Linked DNA regions of Homo sapiens: region 1 is linked to region 2. Evidence: promoter capture Hi-C in 16 types of primary human blood cells and fetal thymus (Javierre and others, 2016). All regions are on one chromosome and are shown on one strand. Each heading gives the region's core, a stretch centred on a gene start or on the middle of the fragment in contact. The rest is flanking DNA. Distances are from core to core; before and after follow the strand shown. Region 1 overlaps MTCH2 (mitochondrial carrier 2). Region 2 holds the start of KBTBD4 (kelch repeat and BTB domain containing 4).

What was found. The method cuts DNA at HindIII sites, captures the fragments that hold promoters and counts their contacts. A CHiCAGO score of 5 or more calls a contact.
Region 1: a fragment that was not itself captured here is called in contact with the fragment with the promoter of KBTBD4 in region 2 in 3 of 17 cell types (M2 macrophages, M1 macrophages and M0 macrophages); the score reaches 6.4 in M2 macrophages.

What each region holds. Positions count from the first base shown.
Region 1 is chr11:47,620,220-47,623,870 of GRCh38, reverse strand. It overlaps MTCH2 (mitochondrial carrier 2), which reads left to right. Exons shown (of 13, transcript NM_014342.4): 12 at 1,095-1,170. Among named protein-coding and RNA genes, the nearest start is that of MTCH2, 21 kb to the left of the region's middle. The HindIII fragment of the contact is 1,018 bases long and covers 1,687-2,704 here.
Region 2 is chr11:47,577,720-47,580,768 of GRCh38, reverse strand. KBTBD4 (kelch repeat and BTB domain containing 4) reads left to right here and starts at 1,799. Exons shown (of 4, transcript NM_018095.6): 1 at 1,799-1,836; 2 at 2,741-3,049. The coding sequence starts at 1,818. It overlaps NDUFS3 (NADH:ubiquinone oxidoreductase core subunit S3), which reads right to left and starts at 1,695. Exons shown (of 7, transcript NM_004551.3): 1 at 1,611-1,695; 2 at 1,435-1,500; 3 at 147-244. The coding sequence starts at 1,677. RefSeq lists a silencer at 1-180 and enhancers at 922-1,580, 1,649-1,888, 1,581-2,240. The HindIII fragment of the contact is 1,977 bases long and covers 38-2,014 here.

The DNA of each region.
Region 1 (3,651 bases), core at 946-3,445, 43 kb before region 2:
CATGTTGGCCAGGCTGGTCTCGAACTCCTGACCTCAAGTGGTCCACCCTCCTCGACCTCCTAAAGTGCTGGGATTACAGGCGTGAGCCACTGCACCCAGCCTTGCCTTTTTTGTTTAATTCAAAATTCTTTTCCCATATGGTACCTGACATATCATTAAACATGTTACTGTTTTCAAATAAGATCAGATAGCTATGTGGAGTTTTGAACATTTTACATTGTTTGTTTTCTGGTTTTGTTTGTTTCATGTTACTCCTGGCAAGCTGTGATGTTTTCTGATACGTAGAGCAACTGCCATTTTTTAGCACAGTGTAAACTTGAAGGATGAATTAAATGTATTATTATTATTTACAGTTTTTTCAAGATGAAGTGATTATACCTAAGTAGGAACATATATATCTACTGTTTATATCCGTTTTCATGTTTAGTATCTTTGTGAACACCAGTTAGTTTTTAAATCTCCTTTCCCTGCTCTTTTTTTTTTTTTTTTTTTTTAAAAAAAGACTGGTTCTTACTCTGTCACCCAGGCTGGAGTGCAGTAGTGCAATCTTGGCTCACTGCAACTTCCGCCTCCTGGGTTGAAGCAATTCACATGCCTTAGCCTCCCAAGTAGCCGGGATTACAGGCATGCGCCACCATGCCAGCTCATGTTTTTGTATTTTCAGTAGAGATGGGGTTTCACCATGTTGGCCAGGCTGGTCTTGAACTCCTGACCTCAAATGATCCACCTGCCTTGGCCTCCCAAAGTGCTGGAATTACAGGTGTGAGCCACCGTGCCCGGCCACCTTTCCCTGCTCTTTAATCATGTAAATGCTGTGTTCTGGAGTTTCATTTGTCCACAAAGGAAAAGTCTAAATGTTTTAGAAATTAAGGTTGAAGTTTATGTTTATTTATTTATTTGAAACCTAAATATAGGGGAGGAATTCTCTTTTGGATGCTTGATCGTTCCCCTGCTTCAATATGATTTGTTTCATTGAACTAAAATGATCTCTCAGGGAATCTTCTGTGCAGCAGAATATTTTGACAAGGTTTATCAACGTCTCAAGAGAATGGTTAATATTAACATGAATAGCTCCATGTTTTTTTCTATTTTAGTCTTGCTGGTGGATGCCCTCCTTACTCCCCAATATATACGTCTTGGATAGACTGTTGGTGCATGCTACAAAAAGAGGTATTTCTTTTTCTCTGTCTCTCTCATTTTATTTTGTTTTATTTTTATTTATTTGTTTTCTTAAATATTGTCTCTGGAATCCCAAGTTAACTCTTGTAGCTCACTTTAGCTAGAGTTAGTCTAGTCTGCCAGTTAATGTACACTTTACAGTGTTCTGTGTTTTCACTTTGGCATAATAGTAAAATGTGATGTTTAGAAATCATGAGCAGGAGTAATGAAGAAGAAAGAATCCCTAGATGAGACCTAGAAGCCATTTGAGTGCCCACATTCAACTTACAAATACGATCCAGGTAGATTATTATCCTGGTAAAATGATGGCCTTGATTTTAGACTCTTTTTTTCCCCCAAACTCACCTTTCATAACCACTTATTTGTCACAGTGGTATTGACAGAGCTGGTCTTATACTTCTAGAGTCTTGTTAGTGGATGATTTTGCCTAGATACCAATTTAGGGTTTGTTATTACTATGAGGTGTATAATCTGCAACAAAAAATTATTTATTATCTAGGCAAAGCTTTATTGGAAAATAAAATAATGGGCTGGGTGCAGTGGCTCACGCTTATAATTCTAGCACTTCGAGAGGTCTAGGTGGGCAAATTGCTTGAGCCTAGGAGTTTGAGACCAGTTGAGGCAACATGATGAGACCTCATTGCTACAGAAAATACAAAAACTTAGCCAGGCATAGCACCTATAGTCCCAGCTACCCAGGAGGCTAAGGTGGGAGGATCACCTGAGCCCAGGAGGTCAAGGCTGCAGTGAGCCAAGATTGCATCACCGCACTTCAGCCTGGGTGACAGAGTGAGACCCTGTATCCAAAAAAGGAAAATAAAATAACGGCTAGGTATGGTGGCTCATGCCTATAGTTCCAGTTACTCAGGAGGCTGAGCCAGGAGGATCACATGAGTCCAGGAGTTTGAGGCCAGCCTGGGCAACACAGCCAGACGTGTCTCTTAACAAAAAACTACAGGCCAGGTGCAGTGGCTCACAGGTGTAATCCCAGCACTTTGGGAGGCCAAGGCGGGCAGATCACTTGAGGTCAGGAGTTTGAGACCAGCCTGGGCAACGCAGTGAAACCCCATCTCTACTAAAATACAAAAGAAATTAGCTGGGCGTAGCAGCGTGTGCCTGTAGTCCCAGCTACTGGGGAGGCTGAGGGAAGAGAATTGCTTTAACCCAGGAGGTGGAGGTTGCAGTGAGCCAAGATTGTGCCACTGCACTCCAGCCTGGGTGACAGAGCAAGACTCCATCTCAAAAAAAAAAAAAAGACAATAACAACAACAAATGGATTGGCTGTGGGCTAAATTTAGCACAGGATCACTTAAAATGATTATCAGTTTAAAGCTGTTTTTGAAGGGGGGTCCACTTCTTAAAAGATTGTAGAAGAAAGCGTATAAAGAAGCTCTTTGTTGCATTATTTTATAGCACTAGTGATATATAAGAGAAAGGCCTTTGAAATCTGAATGAAAAGGCCTAAGTGTTGTTTGTAGTTGCTCTTGCTTAGTGTGCCCACAAAGCCCCTCTGTGAATCCAAGCTTGAATACTTGAATGATTTCAGTACAGACCTACTATGAACATTGTGCATTTCATTCTGAGTTTTACTCTCTATTGTACAGTGTGGTCCCTGTTTAAATGGAAAAAATGGCCTTTCCTTCCTTCCTTTTCTGACTAACACTCTGTTATAGGAAGAAAGCAGACAGAGAATGGATTACGGTGTCAAACACACTTAAAGTAGGAACAGTTGTTCCTGTAGGTGCTTACAACAACAGCAAATCTTGATTGGGCATTTACTGTATACCAGATATCATGCTAAGAGCTTTTCTTACATCAGCTCATGTAATCCTCAAAACAGCTGTGTGAGAATAGGTGTCATTCTTAATCACCCATTTCACATATGAAGAAACTGGGGCTTAGAGCAGTTTAGTGCCAATTACATAATGCAAGGTCACATGGCCTATATTTGGGAAGGCTCAGATTTATACTCCAGAGTGTACTCAGTTGCACTCAGAACATTATTACTTTATTTTTATTTACTTATTTGGTTCTTTATTTTTTAGAGACAAGCTCTGTCGCCCAGGCTGGTGTGCAGTGGTGGCATCACAACTCACTGTAGCCTCAAACTCCTGGGGTAAAGCAATCCTCCTACCTCAGCCTCCCAAGTAGCTAGGACTACAGGCATGCTTCCACCATGTCCTGTTAATTTTTTTGTTTTGTTTTGTTTTTGAGACAGGGTCTCACTCTGTCACCCAGGCTGGAGTGCAGTGGCATGGTATTGGCTCACTGCAACCTCTGCCTCCTGGCTGAGGTCTCTGGCTCAAGTGATCGTCCCACCTCAGCATCCCAGGTAGCTTGGACTACAGGCACATACCGCTAAGCCCAGCTCATTTTTTTGTTTTTTGTTTTTTGTTTTTTTTAATTTTATTATTATTATACTTTTAAGTTTTAGGGTACATGTGCACAACGTGCAGGTTTGTTACATATGTA
Region 2 (3,049 bases), core at 550-3,049:
AGTCACCTGGTTTAATGCTGAGAGAAAAGTCCAAGCTTGGGATGGAGGAATCTGTAGTTTCTTTGAAACAAGTCTGCCCACTCCCACATGCCCTGCGAACATGGTTCTTTCTTGACCCAGACCCAAATAACATTAGTAAGTATTACCTGAACTTGTTGGACATACTTGGGCAAGATTTCAGCCACATACTCTCCAAAAGCTGAGAGCTGCTTGTGGGCCACATCATTCCGTGGTCTGACAGTGGCTGGAAGGAAAAGGCATATTTAAAAAAGAAATGGAGAAGGCAAAAGCCAGCCCTGCATGCAGTCTCTTAGGCTTGTAAGGGATGTCAAATCCAGGAAAGGCTCCCTGAAGCACCTTGAGAAAGGTGCATGTGAAAGGTTTCCCTTCTAGGGAATACAGTGATGAAAACTTGGGGAAAGTGCCACCTTAACTACACGGTCCTCAGAAAGACTCTTACTATAGCAGCTGGGGTGTTCACCTCTTCTCAAAATTACTCCACAGTTCTTCCCTCACATTGCCTGCATTTCTGCTAAAGCAGTAGTCTCAGTTCTCCTGTCAGACTAAGAGCTGTTTGAGGATGGGAACTGAACTTTTGCCTCTCTGTAGCTCCTTAGCACGCAAGTTTATACCAGGTTCTCAAGCTAAGAACTTCAGGGCTTGAAGATCCCTCACAGACTCTCTCTCTCCTTAAAAGTGTGTGTGTGTGTGTGTGTCAATGAGAAAACTGAGGCCCAGGTGTGTGTGTGTGTGTGTGTGTGTGTGTGTGTGTGTGTGTGTGTGTCAATGAGAAAACCCAGGAAAGGAGAAATGCCAGGTCTCCTAACTCCCAGTCCGTGTATCTTGACTGTAACATAATATGTACATACTCATTCATGCAACCCTAAACCACTGAGCAATCACACATCACAAGCTACAGAATAATGGTTAGGTGTTTCTGCCTCTGGCAGCAGGCAGGCCTACTTTGTCATTCACTAGGTCTTTGACCCTGGGCAGTTTAATTCTTTGGACTGTTTCCTGATCTATAGTAAGAAGAGTAAGATGCTATCTACCCCATAAGGCTGTTGTGAGGACGAAATAAGATCATTCACTAAAACGCTTAGCGAGGTTCCAGGCACACATTAAGCACTCAATTAACGCTAGGTACTATTATTACAGGGCTCTGAGGCCTAAAGGTTATATTGCTTGCTTTCAAAGAGCTGACAGTTTAATCAGACAAAAAGGGGATGATTGAAATGGACAAGGAACAATCAGGGCCATAACAGGCCTAAGGGCACAGGGAGGGCTCGATTCTGCATGCAGGGTGAAGACCACTGCAAGTCAGATCTCCAAGATTTGCCAGGAGGACGTAGGGAAGGGCATCCTAGGGCAAGGACAGGCATCTAAGGGGCCCCGCCGATAGTTCAGAGAAGAGCGCTGCCCGCACATACTCACGGCGCGTGTCGGCCCCGGCGCTCTCCCGCCTCACCGGCAGCAACAGAACGGAGGGTCGCCCAGTCCCTGCACAGGGAGATAAAAGGCACAGACGCGCGGGATGAGCCCTGAGGAGCTCTCTGCACTGGGCACGCCGCTGCGCCTGACCCCGGTCTCAGCTGGCTGCCCGTGCTCACCCCTGGTCAGCGCCGAGGCCCCCAAGATCCCGCGCCACCACAGCCTGGCTACCGCCGCCGCCGCCATGTTACTCAGATGCAGACTAGGCAGCGGACGGAAAGACAGCAGGACACGGAGCCCCAAGGGCACGGACCGGAAACGGAAGTGTGCAGCAGATCTTCTTCCGGGCGGACGTGGAGCCGGAAGCGGAGGTTCCGGGCTCCGGGATGAAAGGAGGGAACGCAGGTGAGAAAGCGAGACAGGCAGGTAGGGAAATCGTGAGGTGAGCGTGGTCCTAGCTCCTTGTGGCAGAGCCTAGAGAGAAGGCGAGGACGCTGAAGAACCAGGCGGGTGAGAGGAGGGGAGGGGGCGGGCGTTTTGGGTTCTACGCTACACACCCCTCCCCCGCTCTCTGAGCCAAGCTTTTGACGAGGGCGGGCGGGCCTGAGCGGGAAGAACGGTTTCCCTGGCGACCGTTTCCAAGACGACTCAAGGTGGAGCGGGGACATTGCACAGGGTGATGGGCCTCCCAGTGCCCCGGCCTGGGGGCGGATGGACTCAAGTTCTGGGACGCAGCCATAGGGAGTCTTTCGAGCGAGCGGGGAAGTGTGGGGGAAGCAGCTCAGAAGAGAGCAAATGTAAGACCCACGGATATCCCAGGCTAGGCTTCATATGGAGCGTCTTAACTCCATGCGCTGGGAAGGAGAGGACCTGGCCACTAGGCCGGGGCCAGGGGTCCTTTTTGTCTGATTCTACTGCCCCTGAGCTTCACTAGTTTTATGCCCCAGTTATTTGGTTAGTAAGGCTTTTACGATCACAGGCCTCTCCCAGCCCTTTGCTTTCATATATTGACCTAAATCCCAAGTCTTTTGTTAACATTATGGAAAGGAATTATTCCGTGTTTTCTCAGGAAAACACCCAGAGTTGGAACTTTTATTTATATCATTAGCGGAGGGGCGCCACTGGGGATAACGAACCCAGATTTGGTTAAAGGATAGCGTCAGGGACATCATGGACAGGGCCAGGACTAAGGCCAATCTGGACCCACTTTGCTCTCACTTCTTCCTTTTCCCTCCCTGAGTTGGACAGTTGGATTCACAGACTATGGCTGTGAATTCCTCAGGTTACTCAAGATGGTGTTGCTTTGCAGACAGCTGGCAGAGAGAGAAGTTGGCTAGCATGGAATCACCAGAGGAGCCTGGAGCATCCATGGATGAGAACTACTTTGTGAACTACACTTTCAAAGATCGGTCACATTCAGGCCGTGTGGCTCAAGGCATCATGAAACTGTGTCTAGAGGAGGAGCTCTTTGCTGATGTCACCATTTCGGTGGAAGGCCGGGAGTTTCAGCTCCATCGGCTGGTCCTCTCAGCTCAGAGCTGCTTCTTCCGATCCATGTTCACTTCCAACCTGAAGGAGGCCCACAACCGGGTGATTGTGCTGCAGGATGTCAGCGAGT